2 separate regions of the Homo sapiens genome follow, and region 1 is linked to region 2. The links are contacts of gene promoters, found by promoter capture Hi-C in blood cells and fetal thymus (Javierre and others, 2016). All regions are on one chromosome and are shown on one strand. Each heading gives the region's core, a stretch centred on a gene start or on the middle of the fragment in contact. The rest is flanking DNA. Distances are from core to core; before and after follow the strand shown.

Evidence for each region. The method cuts DNA at HindIII sites, captures the fragments that hold promoters and counts their contacts. A CHiCAGO score of 5 or more calls a contact.
Region 1: a fragment that was not itself captured here is called in contact with the fragment with the promoter of ATP8A1 in region 2 in 1 of 17 cell types (naive CD4 T cells); the score reaches 5.2 in naive CD4 T cells.

What each region holds. Positions count from the first base shown.
Region 1 is chr4:44,691,365-44,694,064 of GRCh38, reverse strand. GUF1 (GTP binding elongation factor GUF1) reads right to left here. Exons shown (of 17, transcript NM_021927.3): 13 at 2,266-2,399. Among named protein-coding and RNA genes, the nearest start is that of GUF1, 14 kb to the right of the region's middle. The HindIII fragment of the contact is 2,261 bases long and covers 297-2,557 here.
Region 2 is chr4:42,655,757-42,658,456 of GRCh38, reverse strand. ATP8A1 (ATPase phospholipid transporting 8A1) reads left to right here and starts at 1,352. Exons shown (of 37, transcript NM_006095.2): 1 at 1,352-1,632. The coding sequence starts at 1,584. It overlaps ATP8A1-DT (ATP8A1 divergent transcript), which reads right to left and starts at 934. Exons shown (of 1, transcript NR_186688.1): 1 at 110-934. RefSeq lists enhancers at 916-1,125, 2,116-2,165 and a silencer at 1,156-1,625. The HindIII fragment of the contact is 6,451 bases long and covers 1-2,357 here.

The DNA of each region.
Region 1 (2,700 bases), core at 178-2,677, 2.0 Mb before region 2:
TTTTCAGATTCATGAGTTGGGTTTCTGTTTAACTTTCTATTACCAATGACAACTCTATGTTTAAATAAATGCTATGACACTCATAAAATGCCATTAATAAATGAGACCTTTGGATTTCCTATTTGGCTCTTCAGCTTGCATCTCCCTTCACAGGGCTTTTGTGAGGATTAAATGAGTTAATACATGTAAACCAATTAGAGCAATGCCTAGTACATAATAAGTGTTTAAACAGAGCCTAGCTTAGCACACACAAGCACTTAGTTTCAGCTATTACTTTTAACAATGTGGTCAAAGCTTGTAATGTTAGTCAAAACAGACATTTAAATGTTTCACTTATAAAACTGAAGTCTAAAGAAAATTTCAATTAGGCTTACAAGTTGTCCCAATCACAGACAAGAATATGTATACTCCTATTGTCTTAATTTTAAAACAATTGGTGCCTGGACTTGCAAAATTATATTTGGTTTCTAAAGATTTTCAGCAGGAAGGTCATAAAGTGACAATAATACACTCTATTAACAGATTATTTTCAGAAGTACTGTTAAAATCCTTTCTTTCTTCAGGAAGCATCACTTATACATTTACTGTATGAAAGATACCATGTTAAGTATCATACAGAATACAAAGCAAATAGAGAATAAAACAGACATGGTCCTTAACTTTGAAGTTGTTACAGCTCCAGCTATGTTGTGGTCCAAAATATTAAAAATCTTAAAAATTTCTTAACTCATTTTTTCAAAAGAAATCATTATAAAAATTGTGTTTTTGTTTCCAAGCAGTCCAATTGATACCTAACCTCTATTGAAAACATAGGTATTCTAGTGTTTCCTTAGAATGCAGGAAACACATTTGTAATTCCAAAAAGCTACTAGTTGCTGTTGATTCTTGCCTCCTGGTATGAAATAAGTTTTTTCCTGATCTTAATTCATAGTCTATGATGACTTTCTGTTAAGTGTGGAATTGACTGCCTATGTAAAACATCCATCTTGAACATAATTACCTTAATGCTGGAAGCTGGAATATTTTATTTTTATGTAGTTCAAAAATAAATCATGTTCTCTCATTAAATTCAAAATGTATTTAAGTTTCCAAACGACAAGGCTTTTTAAGACCACTTATAATTCAGAAAGTAGTACCCAAATGCAAACTAAAATTGACAGACTTCTGTTAAAAATATTTATAAACATTAAACCTACTAATCTTCCTTTCAACTCTAGTAATTTTAATATGCCCCTCAATTCATTTTACTTTAAATTCCATTGCCACTTACTTGCTCAAGGTCTTGTCTGAAAGAAGACATAGAAGAAGAAAAAACTGGGTGACAAAGTAGAAGAAAATTCTCAATACAAAGGAACATGAAGATTCCTTGGTAAGAAGAATTATATATGCTAACTCTCTTCACTGACAAGATGATTAAATAAAGTTAAACTTCCAAGTCACTGTAGCATGTTTGTTAAACACTGGAATTTGTCTCTGCATGTTAACATTAACATTCATGCACTGTGTGGGAGTTTTATAGATGTCAATGTTCATTTTTCCCCTCCTGCTTCCCCATGTTTCACATCTGTTTTCTATATATACTATCCCGTAACATAAGATTTTAGGGCATAGTGAGGGTATCTAGAGTTATATGCCCCAACAACAACAACAACAACAAAAAACAGCCTCTCAGAATGCTATGCCCTGAGTTTCTTATTTGTTATTTAATAGTAACTCTCCTTTCACTTTTATCTGGCTTTTCTCCATGTACTCCTATGAGATACACAAAGGTTTTCGTGATGAGGACAACCTGTTCCTCAAAAGACTAAGTTATTAAAGTGTTCACTAATGGAGCGGCACATCTAACATTTTTTACAGACTGAATATGCACTTTTATTTTTCAAATGTAAATAGATGCTCTTGAGATTGCATAACATAAATATACATTTTAAAAGTGCCACTGAGGTTATGGTAAATTTTTGAAATTAGGTCTAATTCTTAACAGACAAGGAATACAGCTCTTCATGAAAAGGGGACTAACTTTTTTTGTTAAAAGAGAAATAAAAGTTAGATAATAAATCAAAGGAAACTTTTCTCCTATAAGCAAATCACAAGTAGTCTGTAACACCTATAAAGTTGTTCCAAGTCATTCTAACCTTAGAGTATGATTCTCAACTATCTTCAAGAAAGCTGAAATTACTAAATAAATGAAGAATTAGTATACCCTTGCTCATCAATATTTCAAAAAAGTTGGTCAGGCATCTTAGGTTCTCATTATTTTTTTACCTAGCATATCCAGAAGATAGGGATTTCAAAGAGTCATAAAAATCTACCACAATTTCATTCAAAGGAAAGAGATATTTAAGCATAACTCTATTTTGATCAATAAATATCATATTCTTCTGAACTGCTCTTCGAGCCTAAAAAGGGAAGGAAGAAAATGGGTTTAATGATAACCTACTCAAATACTGAGGAATGATGTATTTCTCTAAAGGTCTAGTAAAAACTTATAGGCAGTATTTATAATCCAGAGAGAAACATTTTATATTTCAATTGCATTAGGCTTGCTACCAAAGCTTTTAATCTTTATCTAACAATTTTATCTTTTAAAATGAACACTATTTCATTTAACAGTAAATCAAATGTAACTACATATAAAGTCAAAAGTCCTAATTTCTTGTTTTACAAATAATTAGGTCCAGAGAAATTAAAAGTTAAGAC
Region 2 (2,700 bases), core at 103-2,602:
GAGTGGGCTCTTCATAAATATGCATTGACTGCCTGAGTATTAATGTAGGGCAGGGCTCTGATTAGCAAGTGCTACCTGCAGGAAGCAGAAGAAATACCACAAATGGAGATAGGACGCTATTAGCAGATTTTATTTCATTTTTTCCTGAGGCTTGGAAATAATCACTTCTCTCTCAGGTCAAACCTCTCCAGCTCTCTCCCTTCAGGATGTGAAAAGATCTCAAATAAAAGGCCTCTATGTGAGGATCTCTTTCGCTGGTTGCTGGAGGAAGAGCATGAAATGAGGGAAGAAGCAAATTGCTTCTGATTTATTGTTTCTGGTTTATTCCTTTCCTGCCAGTTCAGCAGCTCGCCAGAAACAGCACAAAACCTTACATCTTAACTTGAAGGTGAAGTATTTGTTTTGACAACTTTTTAGCATAGATCTCGGTATACAAAATAAAAGGTAATGAGGCTATGATAGTCTGAAGGACATCGGCAAATTAAAATTTAACATATTTATGGATTTTATACAAAGACTCCTCTCCCCTTTGCAGATAAAACGACTGCATCCAACTTTATGCAGATTTAACTAAAAGAAAAAAAAAAAGTCTTTTGTGAACCACCTGGGCCAATACTTAGTTGGCTTAATTGCTATTTCAGTGCCTTGTCAGGCTGCAGAGCCTGAACTAGGGAGATGCACCGGGCCCACTTGCAGGCGGGGCCCAGATGCACCCAAGCCCCATGGACAAGAGCACCATGGGCACCAGGGGCCTCCCGACCTGGCAGCCTGTTGCTAGTGGGCGAGGCAGGAGGACAAGTGCGGCTCAGGCCACGAGTCGGGCTGGGCGTGCAGAGAGGTTAGAATTACACCCAGATGGCGAACAGTCAGTCGTTCCTTTCCTGCTCTGGCTGGGAGCTAAACCTTGTAGTCCCAGACCCTTTCGCCTTCGCCTGCCGGCTCAGACCCAACAGCTCTTTCCGGACGACGGGCGGCTCCACTGCGATCAAAAGCCAGGGGTAGCGGGAGGGGATTCGTGAGAATGCAGCAGCCAGAGCAGTCTTTCCTTTCTGAGCAAGATGTGAGAGAGTCCGAGTGGCCTGGAGGAGGAACCGGGTCAACCAACTCCACAGGGCGGAGCGAAAACGCTGGAGGACTAAGGAGGCTAAGAGTTGATCCCCCCTTTGAGTCGTGATACGGTCCGAAGCGGGGCGGGGCGGGGCGAAGGAGGCTCCCCCTGGCTCTCCCCGCCCCTCACCCGCCTTCCTTGCTGAGCGGCCGCGGGAGGGGGAGCGCGAGCCCCGCAGGCCCCTCCCCCGGCGCCGGCGCCCGAGCTCCGCCCCTCGCCGAGCCGCCCCTCCGCGGCTGCAGCAAGAGCTCGCCCAGCTCTGCGGGCGCCGCCACCTTCGCCGCCACCGCTGCCTTTCTCCTCCTCCTGTCGGCGTGCGGGGGCCGCGCCCGGCGGCAGCTCTGCCCTAGGTGGGCGGCGGCGCGGCCCAGGCTGCAGCTGAGCGCTCTGCGCGGCGCAGCCGGGTCTCCCGCGTGTACCACGCCGTGACAGGTGCAGAGTCCGGGCTGAGGACCCACCTGCAGCCGCCGCCGCGATGCCCACCATGCGGAGGACCGTGTCGGAGATCCGCTCGCGCGCCGAAGGTAAGGGGCCGCCGAGGCTCGGGGCTAGCCCGGGGTCGGGAAGCGAGTGTGTGTGTGAGCGTGTGTGTTTATCCTGGAAGAGACCGCATCCTACCTCTTCCCCGGCGGCAGTCCGACTGTCGCGCCCGGCCCCTAGGGGACCCTTCCCCCCGCGCTGCCCCCAGTGTACTCGCAGACCCTTTCCAGGCTCCAGTACCCTCGAATGGGTGTTCTCCGCGGGAGCCCCGAGGCGTGCTTTGCACCGCAGTGTGACCATTAGGTCCCAGTCACTGAGCTCACTCGCCCTGCCCACCTCCCTCCCCACCAGTTCGATTTCCACTCAGCAGATCCCCAGCCCGCCGCCCCTGCCTCCGGCGCCCACCGTTTTGCAACCCCCTATCTGAGCTCCCAGCGAAGCGAGTTTGCTTTTCCCCGGCTGCAGGATCCTTTGATCCGTAGTCCCTTGGCTCTCGAAGCGCGGGGAGCCTTCATCGGGGTCGGGTGCCGAGTGGGTTCCCTGCATTACAGCTTCTGCAATTCTGCCTCCTGCAGCGGAGTCCCACCGGCTCGCGTCTGAGGTTTCGTTTTTGTGTTTCCCTTTTGCCCGAAACCCTCACTTCGGCCAGCTGAGCTGACTTTTCAGCCAGGTGGAAGCTGTTTTCTTTGCTCCACCTGGGGCCAGCTCTTGAATGGCCATGGTTGTCAACACTGAGCAACAGATGCTCCGGGGTAGAAGCAAGTAAGCTTTCCGAGGGCCCAGACTCTTCATCGTCTCCGAGGAGCCCTCAACATCCTGCCTGCCATGTGGCAGGCACTCTGTAAATATTATTTGATTTTGCTCGCGTCAAAGCCAAGACTGTAAATATCCCAAGGTTTGTTTGTCCTCTCCCATAAACCTGTACTTGAATCCTGCAGAGGGTGGAATAACATGTTTTTCAGAAATCTATCTTGCCATCATCGCTGATTCCCACTCTTCCTCCCCACCTCCATCTTTTAATGTGAGACAGGTGGTGAAGTGGTTTTAGAAAAATATATAAGTTAGGAGAATTGGATTTCAGGGATGGAGACAGGCCATTTTTTCTCCTTAGG